Linked DNA regions of Homo sapiens: regions 2, 3 and 4 are each linked to region 1. Evidence: promoter capture Hi-C in 16 types of primary human blood cells and fetal thymus (Javierre and others, 2016). All regions are on one chromosome and are shown on one strand. The core of a region is centred on a gene start or on the middle of the fragment in contact, and the rest is flanking DNA. Distances in the headings are between cores, read along the strand shown.

The links. Contacts are between HindIII fragments. The CHiCAGO score rates a contact against its expected background, and 5 or more counts as called.
Region 2: a fragment that was not itself captured here is called in contact with the fragment with the promoter of SMC3 in region 1 in 17 of 17 cell types (total CD8 T cells, total CD4 T cells, neutrophils and 14 more); the score reaches 14.8 in total CD8 T cells.
Region 3: a contact is called between a fragment that was not itself captured here and the fragment with the promoter of SMC3 in region 1, in 1 of 17 cell types (total CD4 T cells). The highest score is 6.4, in total CD4 T cells.
Region 4: a fragment that was not itself captured here is called in contact with the fragment with the promoter of SMC3 in region 1 in 8 of 17 cell types (fetal thymus, erythroblasts, total B cells and 5 more); the score reaches 9.1 in fetal thymus.

Annotation. Positions count from the first base shown.
Region 1 is chr10:110,565,287-110,569,193 of GRCh38, reverse strand. SMC3 (structural maintenance of chromosomes 3) reads right to left here and starts at 1,499. Exons shown (of 29, transcript NM_005445.4): 1 at 1,363-1,499; 2 at 181-256. The coding sequence starts at 1,377. LOC105378483 (a long non-coding RNA gene) reads left to right here and starts at 1,886. Exons shown (of 2, transcript XR_946318.2): 1 at 1,886-2,161. RefSeq lists a silencer at 890-1,179 and enhancers at 1,520-1,619, 1,630-1,679, 2,494-3,196. The HindIII fragment of the contact is 2,181 bases long and covers 1-1,696 here.
Region 2 is chr10:110,287,236-110,291,250 of GRCh38, reverse strand. It overlaps MXI1 (MAX interactor 1, dimerization protein), which reads right to left. Exons shown (of 6, transcript NM_130439.3): 6 at 3,886-4,015. SMNDC1 (survival motor neuron domain containing 1) reads left to right here. Exons shown (of 6, transcript NM_005871.4): 6 at 1-521. Among named protein-coding and RNA genes, the nearest start is that of SMNDC1, 16 kb to the left of the region's middle. The HindIII fragment of the contact is 3,746 bases long and covers 431-4,015 here.
Region 3 is chr10:110,268,671-110,272,666 of GRCh38, reverse strand. All of the region lies in intron 3 of MXI1 (MAX interactor 1, dimerization protein), which reads right to left. Among named protein-coding and RNA genes, the nearest start is that of SMNDC1, 34 kb to the left of the region's middle. The HindIII fragment of the contact is 8,320 bases long and covers 1-3,996 here.
Region 4 is chr10:110,876,305-110,879,964 of GRCh38, reverse strand. The region is part of intron 2 of PDCD4 (programmed cell death 4); the gene reads right to left. Among named protein-coding and RNA genes, the nearest start is that of PDCD4, 6.2 kb to the right of the region's middle. The HindIII fragment of the contact is 1,757 bases long and covers 1,173-2,929 here.

The DNA.
Region 1 (3,907 bases), core at 250-2,749:
TTAAGTTTATAAAAATAAGCAATTCATCAGTGCAATAAGACAGAAAAGTTATTTCACGCAGAAAAATATAACTTAATATTCAAAGACAATTCCTGTCTCCTTAAGCCAATATAGAAATGGACAGAATTTACATTATCTGTATAGACTATAAATATGACCGAGTAAACCAAGAACACTTACCAATCACATTATGTTTTGAACTGAAGGGATCTACAATTGTTTGATCTCTGTAACTTCGAAAACCCTGGATAATCACCTAGTAAATAAAAAACATTTTTGAGAACCCACCCCACAAAAAAAATTAACATTTTTCTCTTGCATTTCTTTCTTGTTTTTCATTTAATGCAATATAGAAAACTCGAAATTTCATATAAGAAAAATTCATTTTGGAAAGTGGTGATTAAAAATCTGCTAAAAAAAAAAAAAGGTACTTTTATCGGTAATCTTTGCCAAGGCAATGCTGCTGGGTTTTATTTTTTTTTAGGAGTTATGCTGTCAACCTGTTAAGGACCTTTCAAAATCAAAAACACTGTGTGAGCTTAACTGAACCCTAAACGCTGCAGTACAATAGCAAGTCTATAAAAGCAGGCCGACGGGCCCCAGCTCTCCTGACTCCAAGACCACCGAGTGCTGCTTTCAGTCACTCACGCCGGCCAGCCTGAAAGAACCCACGTTCCAAAGAAGGAGTGCTCAGAGCCCGACAGACCCAACAGAAAACCGTCTCCAAGGCCGTGTGCCTGGGCTCATCTTTGTGGTGGAGTCCCGCGCGGGAAGACCATTTTGACAGAAGTAAACAACCGAGGGAGGCGGCGCTCCGTATCCTGCAAGCAGGAGGGTCCCGCTCACTTCGCGGGTTAACTGGGGAGAAGAACGGCTCCCCGCAGTGACAGGTGACGACACCCCAGCCAATGCCCCCAGGGCCGCCCCCGGGCCGGGGAAGCCACCTTTCCACACATCCCAGGCACATGGGCCGTGTGAGGCCACCCCTGCAGGACCACACAGCCCTTCCCGCCCGCGGCCGCCCCGGCGGGGTGCCCCCCGCCAGCTCTGGGGCCACCCAGGAAGGCCCAGTCCCTCCCAGCGGCCCGCCCGCCGGCCCTTCCACACCTCTCGGAGATCCTGCCTCTCCCAGACAAGCGCCAGCAGGGAGGCCGGGGCTGCAAAGGAGTGCCCCAATTCTCCGCGACCCCGCAGCCGGGGCACTAGCGGGACCCGGGTCTCCCTCCTCCCCCACAGTCCCCGCCCAGCCCTGGTCCAGCCTGTGGAGACAGGGGAGAGGCTGCGGGTGGCGCCGCAACACTCCCGCCTCAAGGAGCGGCCCTTACCGGCCCATGACGGGGTGGAGGGACGCGAAGGCCTTACCTGCTTTATGTACATGATTCCGGGCCCCTGGCCTGGAAGGAGACCTGCCCCGGAGCAGCAACCGCACGGCCGCAGGGTCAGGTGAGGCGCCTACGCGACCCCTCCCCCAAAGCGCCGCTCGCTCCCCTCAGCCAAACAAAATGGCGGCGCTCGTGGGGGCGGAGTCCGCGCCTCGGACGGAACCACCTTGCAGCCTTCACAGGGCGTAGGAGGAGTCAAGTTCAGGTCTGCTCTTTCTTTTAGGCAAAACCAGTCCTCCACAGCGTTTTTTGGTGGATTTCTTTTGAATCTAGAATTCTGTAGCTAACGCTTTCCTGAGACTTAGTCAAAAGCTTCACTCGGAAAATCTATGACCGTAGGGTTGGTCCGTACCACCTCCGAGCGCGGGGCCAATGGTCGCGTCCACAAAGGGGGAAAGGTTCCGCGCCAAAGCCAAGAGGGAGACTCCGAGGGCCAGTAGCGCCGCGGGCTGTCGGCCACGTGATTCCGCGCTGTTTAAAAAAGCGGACCTCGCGCGCACTGTGCTAGCCTTGGAACACATGGAATGCTGGTGATTCTTGGAATTCTGTGTGCGGAGTCACTGCTGCCCCTTTGTTATCGCTCTCCATAGGAACGTTTACAATCTTAGCACGCCCCAAGCTGGTTACGAATTGCCCACTCGGAGGACAACCCCGAAGGGATTTGTCAATGCTCGAAAATTTGTTTTAATAATGTGATGATTAATTCCGTCGGGAACTGTTTCTGTTCTACCATCTGCTATAAATCTAGGCAGATCTGTACAATTGCAACAAAGATTTAGGTAAGGCTGAAAGCTTTTAATCCACTTTAAAAACAAAAGAAAACAGCCTGAAAGATACTAGGTGCTAGTGGCAACCCTAGGTCTGTCTGATCCTTGTCAGTCTTGGGAGAAAAACATCATTTGTTTAGAAAATGAATCTCTGGGCTGCTCTGAAATTACTTGCTGGGAAGAGAACAAAATAACTACCCAAATCATCCCCAGCCCCACCCCCGCCCGCTGCTGGAGACAATTCTGGCCCTAATTATTTCTAGATTGAACTATTTTTAGTAGCCTCCTAACTGCCTCTGCTAACCAGGGTATCTCCCTAGGAGTCCTTTATCTGGAGCCCGGATCAAATCCTATCCAGCCCTTGGTTTAAAAAAATAAATAGGCCTGGTCGAGTGGCTCAAGCGTGTAATCCCAGCACTTTGGGAGGCTGAGGGGGGAGGATCACCTGAGGTCACGAGTTCAAGACCAGCCTGGCCAGCATGGCGAAACCCCCGTCTCTACTCGAAATACAAAAATTAGCTGGGCGTCGTGGCGGGTGCCTGTAATCCCAGTTAGTCGGGAGGCTGGGGCAGGAGAATTGCTTGAATCCAGGAGGCAGAGGTTGCAGTGAGCCAAGATCGCGCCACTGCACTCCAGCCTGGGCAACAGAGCGAGACTGTCTCAAAATAAATTAAATAAATATGTAAGCATTTTCTTTTCTTTATTTCTAACTTTTTTTTTTTTTTTTGACAGGATCTTGCTCTGTCACCCAGGGTGGAGCTGGAGCATAGTGGCTCGGTCATGGTTCACTGCAGCCTCAAACTCCTGGGTTCAAGCCATCCTCCCACCTCAGCCTACAGGCTGTGGCCACCAAGCCCAGCTTTTTTTTGTTTTTGTAGAGACCAGGTCTCCTTATGTTGCCCAGGCTGGTCTCTAACTTCTGGCCTCAAGCGATCCTCCCACCTCTGCCTCCCTAAATGCTGGGATTACAGGAATGAGCCACTGCACTCAATCTAAACATTTTACTTCTAGATTTTAGTTGTATTATTTAAAGCTTAGGACAGGTATGGTGGTTCACGCCTGTAATCCCAGCACTTTGGGAGGCCCAGGTGGGTGGATCACTTGAGGTCAGGAGTTTCAGAACAGTCTGGCCAACGTGGCAGATAGGATTATCTTATACATCCTGTTTGTAATTCTAAATATGATGGAGTTTTATCATCTTCATTTTATAGACTAGGAAGTGGAGGCTCAGCATGGCAAAACTCCGTCTCTACTAAAAATACAAAAATTAGCTGGGCGTGGTGCAGACGCCTGTAATCTCAGCTACTCAGGAAGCTGAGGCAGGAGAATCACTTGAACCCAGGAGGCAGAGGTTGCAGTGAGCCGAGACTGACACTGCACTCCAGCCTGGGTGATGGAGCGAGACTCTGTCTCAAAAAAAAAAATTCTAAGCCTCCACTTCCTAGTCTATAAAATGAAGATGATAAAACTCCATCATATTTAGAATTACAAACAGGATGTATAAGATAATCCTATCTACCTAAAATTGTTTATACATATGTAGGCAAAATATGAAAAGATGGTGACTAAAACATTTGAATGGCTTTCACAGTGATGGGAGTTTTACTTTCTTCCTTAGGCTTTTCCATATTAAATGAAGCTTATACAATTAGCTTATATAATTTATATAGGCAGAAAAAAAGATCAGCGAAAAACCTAAAATAATCAAAAGGTGATTTTGAGAATGTAATGCTTTTATTTATATTTATGTATTTATTG
Region 2 (4,015 bases), core at 1,054-3,553, 280 kb after region 1:
CTGGGACCAACCTTAGACTTATCCAGGCCAAGGTATGTTGTTTGACGAACACCGCAGGTGATCCTGATGTGCATCCCCGTCTGAGAACTGTTAACTATAAAAGTTTGACTTTGGAAATGAAGAAAAATTACCTTTTAGCCTAATCATGAAGACTAGGCGTCAAACCAAAACAAGATGCATCAGTTACTGTAGCAACACATTTTTTTTAAAAAATTGCTTGTTGTCACAATGAAGGGTGTGTGTCTGTTTCCAGTATGCAATTCTAATGCCAAATGTCTGCCTTAAAAATAGCAAAGGAGACCATCAGGTTAACATAAAGGAAAACTGTAGTTGTGTGACTCATGTGTCTGTAGATTGTAATTTTATAATTACAATTTTTATAAGATAAAAAACTACCAGTTGTAAATTCAACCAAAAAAAATTTAAAGCTTTGATTTAGCTTTTTGCTTTAACTTGGGTAGTAACTGAAATATAAAGGAAGAAAATCTATTAAAACCAATGAGGTTTTATATTTTTTTAAATCTTGATTCAATAAATATCAGCTGAATTAAGTATCTGTATGGTACTACGAAGCAATCAATTAGTATAAATGGCAATTTACAAGTTCAACAGTAAATGTAAACATTCTTTGTATCTAGGATTTTTGAGTTGCAAGTTAAACTGAATTTTTACTGCAGTAGAGAGGAGGAGCATAGCAGGCAAAATAACAGGTAATACTGTATTTTAAACAAACAGAAAAACCCAAGTAATTGGCGCCCTTTATCCAATCATCTTTTAAAAGGCCTATGTATGTGTATAGTTATGTTCTTAAGAAACATCTTAAGAGGTTCAGAAATCAATTTTATAGATGGAACATTTTAATAATTCGTTTTGGCCTAGCCAAAAGAGTAAAATAAAACAAAATAGTGTTAGATTTCTGTGAGGTGTTTTAATTGCCTTTTCTGCCTTTTAACTTATGTATATAAAGGTGGTTCTTTTGTGGCCTTGATTGGGGTAAAGCAGAACTGAGAATAATAGGGGTTTGTAGTAGTTGACAGCTGAACTAGCTAAAAATACGAAGTTTTGGATATTTAATTAATCTTTCAGTTCCCAGGCAACAAAAACTGGAAACTTAGTTCCACCACACACCTTACCAGTTCATTTAAAACAAAACCAGTATAGTCACTGGAATTATTTAAACTGTAATTTGTTTCTCCACTTAGTCTTTTTTAAGAATACGGCTGAAAGAGCCATGGTGATAATCATTAGGAGAGAAGGTTGGCATTTTGTTTGAAGAGCTACTTTCTCAACTTGGGGCTGAAAGTTATGGTTGTTGTTTGCTGGCTCAGGATTTACCTTTCTTGGTAAAACTGATGTGCTTTTGTTTTTTCCCCTTTCAAGCCCTGTACTTACTTTAGCAAGATGCAGTGAATTTCTGACCAGAGAAACAAAGAATTCAGGCTTGGAGGAAACACTTGACTCCATATCCTGGGAAACTAGAGTTGAAGCCTGAGATCTGAAGCTAGGCTAGTAATCACTTTAATAGATGGTAACTGTCCAAATGTTCATTGTTCAGAAGTAGCAGGAAGGAGTAAGTATCCCTTTAATTCTTTTGCCTGGAGTTTTTCCCTCCAAAATCGCCCCTCAGGTTTAGTTGACCTAGCTTTCTAAGTGTGATGAAGCTACTAATTTAGAAACGACTGATCTTAAATGTATATTCTTCTTATAATTTTAGAGGTACTTTTATAGGTTTTGTTATATTTTTACAGTGCTATTCTGTGCCCTGGTGTGAGCATCTGAAATAAGTATCTCAATTATTACCCTACCAATAAAGATTTTTAAAGCATTCCCCATGGCAAAGAGCTATGAGCTTGAGGATATGGAAAAAATTCCAAAACTACAGTAAGTTAGTTGGCAGTATCTTAAAAGAACTTCATTTAAAGCCATTTTCTCTAATTTATGACTGTATAGAAAGGTAAAACAACAGGAAGTGAAGTTTTCAGCCAGTACATTTATTTTGAACTACGCTGCCTATTTAAAACAATCTGACATATTCCACAAGAAAACCAGTTTCCTATTAGTTCTGATACATAGGAAAGGAGATAGCTGCTGATTGTCTTTTCTTGGCAAAGTCAGCACTAAATACTGACCTAGGGCACATTATTATCAGTGTATAATATGTTCAACTTGAGATTAGTCCTTTTTCTTTTTTCTAGAAAGACCAACTAATCACTAAAACTGATGCTGCATTAATCTTATAAAGCCTTCATTTAAGAAATTCTATAGGAGGCTGGGTGCAGTGGCTCACACCTGTAATCTCAGCACTTCGGGAGGCCAAGGTGGGCGGATCACATAAGGCCAGGAGTTCGAGACCAGCCTGACCAACATGGTGAAATGCCCTCTCTACTAACAAATACAAAAATTAGCCGGGTGTGGTGGCACATGCCATAGTCCCAGCCACTCAGGAGGCTGAGGCAGGAGAATTGCTTGAACCCAAAAGGTGGAGGTTGCAGTGAGCCGAGGTCACACCACTGCACTACAGCCTGGGTGACAGAAAGAAATTCTATAGGAAATAAAAAATAACTACTTTATGTTAAAGTATTACCTACCATGGAATTTTAAGTGAACCAATATTTAGGAACAGTCTTTTTCTGTAAGATCTGGAGTCAAAGTAACTAAAATTCAGGATTAAGGATGCATTAAAAGGTTGCATTCATCAGAGAAACTAGAGAAATACACCCCTTTTAATTTCCTTAGTGCTACATCTTCCTAGATGGCAGTCAGGGAGTGGGGTGGTAGTTTATATATATCAGCTTAAATCCTTACAACCCTTCAAGATAGAGGTAGTACTTATAATAGCTTTTCAGGAAGAAAAGGGCTCCATGAAGAAATCAAGCAACTTAACTAGGGTCAGCAATGTTGGAACTGGGATTACAGTGTAATTAAAACACTTGCTTTTCCCACACTTTACTGTTCTGGGTTAACTGTTGGGAACCTGATTTTGGTCAGCAACTTTGCCTCAATAATCCTCACTGCCTCTTAAAATTCCTTCATAATGCTAAAAGCAGTCATTGTCAGGGAGATTAGAAAGGCATTTCTGTAGGAGTTCTCATACCTATTCTAACCAGAAACTTGAGTTGCAGTGACTTCAGAATCCTCTAGTCATAACGCGCTACAGTAGGTTTTACCTGTACCTTTTTGAGACGGAGTCTCGCTCTGCTGCCCAGGCTGGAGTGCAGTGGCTCGATCTCAGCTCACTGCAGCCTCCGCCTCCCAGGTTCAAGATTCTCCTGCCTCAGCCTCCTGAGTAGCTGGGACTACAGGTGCATGCCACCACGCCCAGCTAATTTTTCGTATTTTTTTTTTTAGTGGATAACGGAATTTCATCATGTTGGCCAGGGTGGTTTCAAACTCCTGACCTCAAGTGATCTGCGCACCTCTGCCTTCCAAAGTGCTGGGATTACAGGTGTGAGCCATTGCACCTGGCCTACCTGTACCTTTTAATATAAATGTCACTCAGGTGTTCTATAAATAGGGTACCCTAAATAAGATTAGTGGAACTTCCAGACTTGTTTGCAATTTGAATAATAGTGTAGCTAAAGGATGCTCCCAAAAGTTATTTAGAGAACAGATCATGAGAATGGCTTTGTGTCCTACCTGAGGCAGTTAATATTATTATTAATGTGGCACATTAAACCACATGCAGTTAGGTTATATGGAGTTACCAGTCAGGCTCCTGTTTAAATTGCAGAACAGGAATGGCAATTATAATTCAAACTGCCATTTGATTTGGCATTGATACTGATTTGGTATCAACAGACATTTAGGAGATAGTTACCTCTTAAGGTGTGGATACCCATTCATGTTTTTGCCTTCATAAAGAAGGATGGTACAAAAAGAAAGGTATTCTTCGTTCACAGTTTTTATTTCTTCCAATTAACTTTTGTGTCTTCAAAGTTGATTTGTCTTTTAAAAAATTAATACTTCTTACTCATACAATCTACACCACCCCAAGGAAAACAAACCCAGGGAAGGG
Region 3 (3,996 bases), core at 375-2,874, 300 kb after region 1:
AGCCTCAGCATGAAAGGGCTTATCTGTATACAAATAAGAATTAAAATGGTTGAGATGCATGTTACTTATTCTTGGGAGACTTTTTAAAACCACTTTCTTTCAATAAAATATAAATAGTTCTTAGCATAGGCTATATATACCTCTAGAGGTATTCAACACTGAGCCAGAGGATATTTGAAGCCACAGGGTTATACTATCCTTTCCAGAAGTCATAATTTTTTCAAAAATTTGGAAGAAAAATATTTTATATAAAAACAAACACAGATAATGCAAAATGTGTTTTTAAAAGAAGACTTCAAATTTCATATTATTTCAGACAGGTTGAGTATTCCTTATGTGAAATGCTTAGGACCAGAAATGTTTTGGATTTCTCATTTTTTCAGATTTTGGAATATTTGCATTATACTCAGCTGAGCATCCCAAATCCAAAAATCCTAAGTCTGATATGCTCCAATGAGCATTTCTGTTGAGAGTCATGTTGACACTCAAAATGTTTCAGATTTTGGAGCATTTCAGATTTGTGGACTTGGGATGCTCAACCTGTACTACATCCCAGGGCCTCCAGGAATCTATGTTCAAACTGCTACAGCAAATCACAACACATCACTATGGACTTTGGAACATCATTTTTGACTCATGGCTGGGATTATGTCTCTCAAAGGTTTGGAGAGGGAAAAAGAAGGGACAGGGGAGAAGGGAGAGAAGATATGGAAGAGAGAGGAAAGGGAGATGTAAATTAATGATGACAAAATAGTCACATATTCTTTCTCAAACTACACAGATACCACATAGGCTGAAATGTCATTTAGTCTTTACAACTCAGAAATATGAAGAACATGAAGTGCCACTCAGTCAATAACAATTATCATCAGTAAACAATAGTGCCTTATTATACCACTGAGCTAAATGCTATAACGATTTTTCAAGTTGTCAGTAGTATAATCTTTACCTGTTTGAAGACTATAATTTAGTCCTCTGCCTACCACCTTTCCAGCCTCATTTCCCATAACTCATACCCTTGCAAACCTCTTCCATAACCAAATGTGCTTTTATACTTGCCAATATCTCTACCTGGAATGCATTCTCTCCAAATGTCCACCTGGTGGGCATCTAACTCATTTTCAGGCCATGGCCAAACAATTTCTTCCACAAGATCATCCTTGCCATACTCCTTCCTCAGATGATACTTGATTTCATACTAATCACACTGTATTTCAATTGAGAGTGAATCCATACTTTTAGTCATTTCTGTTTTTCAAATAAACAGAATGACTGGCACACAGTGGGGAGGAGAGATGTAATACTTCTAGTGGATGTTTCTGGGACTCTCTAACTCACCAAAGTTGAGGTAACAATCAACACCAGGACCTCCAAACAGTATAATCAGATGCCAGGCCAGCATTTGTGAGAGATCTATTTATGAATGCCAGAACTCTTAACCTTTTTTTTTTCTGGTGCAGCTGAAATCACCAGCAAATGTTAATAAGGTGCATACCACCAAAGATGTCTACATGTAGAGTAACCAACAGTCTCCAACCTAACTCTTGATGAGAGTCAACACTTTTTTTTTTTTTTGAGACGTAGTTTCACTCTGTTGCCCAAGCTGGAGTGCAGTGGCGCGATCTCGGCTCACTGCAACCTCCGCCTCCCAGGCTCAAGCAATTATCCTGCCTCAGCCTCCTGAGTAGCTGGGATTACAGGCATGTGCCACCAAGCCTAATTTTTTTTTATTTTATTTTACTAGAGACGGGGTTTCACCATATTGCCCAGGGTGGTTTCGGACTCCTGAGCTCAGGCAATCTGCCCGCCTCGGCCTCCCAAAGTGCTAGGATTATAGGCATGAGCCACCGCAACCGGCCAACACCTTTTTTAATAGTGAAGCAAAGGGTTTAAGAACTGCAGCTTTTACAACAGAATGACTTTATCAAAGTATTTACAGTGAAAGGGGCCTAGGACTAGGAAAACAAACAGCTAAGAAAACCAAGGTATGAGAAGGGAAAGTCTAAAAAGCAATATTCCACAATGCAAAGAAGAAAAAAATTAAGTCAACAGTTCTTAATCCCATGTAATAAATGAGAAACTAGTGTATGCTTACCAGATCCATGGACTGCTTGCTAAGTTGAAGACTATAGTGCAGAACATATAAACAACTATTTTTTTTAATTATCCTGCATTCATGTCTAAGGAAGACTTCATTTTTGACAGCCTCATTTGAAAAAAAAAAAAATAATTAAATCTTGTTCCAGAGGCATTTGTTCTTCACTGGAACTCCCACAAGGAACCCAAACTCCAAAGTGATTTAACAGAAATTGCTCACTTGACATCCATTCTGTGCTAAATTTAGTTTCTATGCATACTTCCCCTCTCTTATCTGTTTATAAGGATTTAGTTAAAAAGAAAAACTTGATCATTCATTCACCATATTTCTTCTTTGGTCACACAAGAACTTTCTGTATTCCAAGTTTCAAAGTCTGGGAAATAGGGCTACATCACTGGAGAAAACAGTGGCAATTTGTTCTAAATACAAAATAGCTTATTTTCCTTTGGCAACTTTCCAGGGGTCTGGGTAGAGGGAAGGGATACTCCTCTCTAGAGAGATCAGGCTCTGAACCTGGACTACTGTCAAAACTTAGCCATCGATGGGAGAGAATATTTTTTAATTATCTTTCACATCAATTTGGAAACTGATTAAAGATTTTTGCCTTATTAACAGTTTTTCTACTCTTTGGCCTTTTGTTGGTGTTCATCTCTATTCTGGCAGCCCCCATTGGCTGATTTAATGGTACCAAGGGGCTGAGAAGTGTTGCTGTCCAAAAGAAAAAGCATTCTCTCACAGGGACTGGGAAGGCAATCTGCAATCACAACAGTAGCTACTTGTTAACTTTCTATTTGAAACACAGTGATGTCAATAGTATTGTACCCTGCCAGCCACCATGGGGTAAAGTACATTTTGAAACCAAAACAAACTTCCTACGTGCTGGCAAGTGAGATCTGAGACGCAGTGATAATGTTCTACAAGACACTGACCTAATTTTATGTACAAAATGCAAGAATTAAGTCTTCTCTTCTACAAAAGTTTAAGTCTAACTCTCACAGCTCTATTCCCACCCAGAGCCCAGTGTAACTGCTTTATTGTATCAAATTATTGTCCAGGATGGAAGAGGGAAATGACGAAATACTGTTACTGATCTCTAATTAAAATGGTGATCTTACATAGCACAAAACAGCACATTTAAAGAATGCTTTGTAATATAGCTGTTCATCTAGAAGCAGAAAATGAAAATAGCAAAGCACCTTTAAAAGTGGCCCTACTAATAAGATGTGAGTTGTATAATAGCTCATTTTAAGGGGAATATTCATATAGGAGGAAAGACATTTTATTAAATGGAACAGGAACAATCTGGCCCAAGAATTAATTCATCCCTGGAAGGCGAATATTCATAATTTGTACTGAATATGAGCAACCTGAAATAGAGAGCTAAACGATTAAAAGTGGTAACCATGCTTACTACTGGCAGATGGCAAATGGTTTGGCATTGCTGGACATCTGCCAATCCAGTCAAGCCAGCCAGGAATTATTTTTAAAGTCCCATTTTAGAACAATTTTCCCAAAATCAAAATGCAGTTTGTTTTTTGGTGAGGAGGAGATAAAATTTGCAGTAGAAAAAGGGTAACAAAGAGGAATTGTTGGCCAGTGTGTATGTGTGTATGTGTTGTTGTTGTTGTTAATAACTGAAGCATTTACAGGCCATTTGCAACCTCTGGAAAAATAAAATTTACAGAATTTAAAATACGCCATAGTCCCTGATAATAATAGAGAATCAATGTTTTGGTATGTCTTTTTATTTCTAAATTACTTAACTGTTTTGACCTCTCTTTCATTATACTGTATCACTTTTTTTTTTTCCTGACCACAAAGGGCCCAACTGAAGAGTAGTTTTTGAGAGTAACTTTTGGAGGCAGCCTAGCATAACACAACACCTGGCACCAATCCTG
Region 4 (3,660 bases), core at 802-3,301, 310 kb before region 1:
TCTATGTGCATGGGCTTTAATATGTTTTAAGACATGTTGAAACCAAAAATTTTCACCAACCTATAAAAAGCATACATGTGTTTAAATCTTTACAATTCTTGACATACTTAGGAAGGTAGGAATGTTTTGTTTTAAACAAAATCATCAATTAGAGCCAAATTATTTCACTAGTCTCATAAGTAGTCTCCCTGCCTCCAGTCTTCAAACTATACTGAATGAAGACTGATTTTCTCAAGCATGCCCTCACTGAAGATCCTTTAAAAGTAGTCCCATTATGTCACAAAAAATGTAAACTTTTTTTTTTTTTTTTTTGAGACAGCGTGTCGCTCTGTCACCCAGGCTGGAGTGCAGTGGTGCAATCTCAGCTCACTGCAAGCTCTGCCTCCCGGGTTCACGCCATTCTCCTGCCCCAGCTGGGACTACAGATGCCTGCCACTACGCCTGGCTAATTTTTTTGTGTTTTTAGTACAGATGGGGTCACCGTGTTAGCCAGGATGGTCTTGATCTCCTGACCTCGTGATCCACCTACGTCGGCCTCCCAAAGTGCTGGGATTACAGGCGTGAGCCACCGCACCCAGCCAAAATGTAAACTCTTTACCTTGTAACTTAAGGTCCTTTATGATCTTGCCCCTGCTTACCTCACCAGAATCACTGCTAACTACTCCCACACTCAAATTGTCAGAGCTTAAGTTAGATATCATAGGGAAGAGATGGGAGGGATTCATTTGGCAGAAGAATACTGAGTATATTACAAAAAGAGAAAGTATAAAGTAGGAAACCGCTAAGAAAATGCTTCAGTAATTCAGTCACAAGCTAACTGGTAAAGAGCAAGGGTAGTAACTGTGGGATAAATAATAATGTTACACTTTTAAAGAAAATAATGAAGGACTTTTAAGCAGAATGTATCTAGGATTAAAGAGAAGTCAAACAATGCCTTAAAAGTTTTCAAACTGGTAAGAAGCCGGTGTTAGGATGGTGTGTTTGGGACATCATCATAACCATCAGTAGTAATTATAGTCTTAGTGGAAGTAGTCGTAGTACTGTTTCTTTCATCATTACCATTACTATTGTCATCTATTAGATACCAGGTTCCACACTACCTGGTACCTATTAGATTCCACACTACCTGGTACCTATTAGCTAAGGCACTTTACATATGTGGTCTATAAGCTTCAAGAGCTCTAGAAAGAAACTGTTTATCCTCATTTTACAGAAGGAATGTGTTTCACAAGAAGTTACATATCTAGAAAGGATTATGGCTAGAATTCAAACCCACATTTTTAATCCCATATAACTACAGAAAATACAAAACTAGAATACAGCAGAGTATTGACAGCTAAAGAGACGAACAAGGGCGTGAATGTAAAGAGAGATAAACAAAAATGATTAAGTGGAAGGGGACAGAAAGATCAGGATCACATAAATTAGATGACATTTTCGTGTAAGAGTGGATGGTTGAGAAAAACATTAAACATCTACCTGTAACATAGTGCTTTCATCATTGTGCCATTAAGGTGAACCACAAAACTGGTCCAGAAGACACAGGAGTCAGAACTATAATAAAATGTCTTAAACTGTCCCTTGGAGTATTCAATTTAAATACATCTATTTCCCATAATCGAGTTTTCTTTTCTTCAACAATTTTAACATCCTTTCAAGTATGTTTGTGTCTCTGCAGCAGTAAACATTCTCTCAGTATAATTTATATATTTGACCTTATCATTTTTAACCCATGTTTGTATTAATTGCTTTATATTTTGTTACTCATACTCACCTAACTGTTGGAGTTCCATAACCCCTATTGAGCTGACTTTAAGAAAACCAAAATTAAAATGATAAGCTGAGTACAGAATGTGATTGACTTCAAAATTGTTTCCTACTGTGTACTAATTCCCTCTTTCTGAATTCTGATATCTCAATAGTAACCACTCCAATTGTATATGACCACAGCACCAGAAAATCACATTTTCAATTACTGGTGTCCAATGAGTGGCATAATTAGAATAACATTACCACACTTTCATGTATTACATACCTAGTATGTGCTTCACAGACTTAACACACATATACAATATCTCACTAAATCCTAATTATAAATCTATACAGAGGGTATTTATATCCCAATTTTATACATGAAAAAACTGAAGGTCAGAATAACCTACTTCCTCCAAGTAAAAGAGTAAGAGTGTGACTTGGACTATTTGCTATGTGAAGAATTTACTACAAAGAGGGTCTATCTTAGGCCTATTCAAATATTGAAGAACAAGTCTTTTATTTTAAAGCAGTGCTGGACACAAGCACCAAGAACAGGGTTAGAACTAGGTCTTATTGTAGTTAGGAAACAAAAAGTACACATTTTAAAGCTGTGTTTCTATTTCTAATAGAAATAGAATGCAAGCCATATAAGAAATTTTAAATTTTCCAGTAGCCACATTAAAAAGTAAAAACAGGTGAAATTAATTTAAATATATTTTATTTAATCTAATATAACCATATCATCTCAACATGCAAGCAATATAACAAATTATTGAGATAGTTGACCTTCATCTCAACTCAGAGTAGCCACATTTCAAGTACTCAACAAACACATGTGGCTAAGCACAGTGGTGCACACGCCTGTAATCCAGCTACTGAGGAGGCTGAAGAGGGAGGATCACTTGAGCCCAGGAGTAATAACCACATGTAGCTAGTGGTCACCATACTGGACAGTGCAGAAAAGAAGCAATTACCTATATGTAAAATATATTCTAAACTGTATTACCATCCCCATCTCAATTAAGTAGGTACATATTATCCATTTATAACCCTAAAGCATACTCATACAGCTATTGTATACAGCAGCACAGAAATGATCATTAATTACATAAATTTTTTTCAATTTTTTACCATACTTTAAAAAGATCTGTAAATAAACAATGGTAAAGAAGCTTCAAATTCAACATGTTTGTTCAGATCAAAGAAAACTATGTACATTGTAAACAATAGTGAGTTAAGTCACTGAGGAAAGAAAGATGTAGTATTTAGTTACGAAATACACTTAAAATGACAGAAAATAGCTTTCAATATTAATAAAATTATAAGACAAAGAATTATCCAAAGTATACCAATATGAACTGTTCTCACTATTCAGATATTACACAATTCTAATTAACTTTTTGGGAGATTATTTTTAAAACTATAAATACATTTTAAATTATCTTGAGTTACTCACATTTGGTCATCTATTCCACAAAACTGTTCATTTTTATGATAATAACATGCTATTGAAGCACCATGGAGAATTAGGGAAAATACCCTAGGTAATTTAGAATATAAAAATTATTTGTTAGGAAAGATACCAAAGATACCAGTAAGTTTATATTACAGAAATCACTAACTAGCCCATGTGAAAATAAGCAGGCTCACTATTCTTCTCTATTCTGTACTATATAACAGAGAATAGGAATATGTGGAATGTGAAAGGATAGGCAGAAAAATAGGACATGTAATGAATTTCCATGAAAATAAAAATCACAAACTTGACTTTAAAAATAATATAGCCTGTTTTCTTACAGCATGAATAAAAGAGTATTTAAAGATAGTTTTTCTATCATGTTTTTATAAAATATGGAATGGTCTGAAGCTTCCTCACAACATAGTCAAGCTTCAAGATATTTCAGC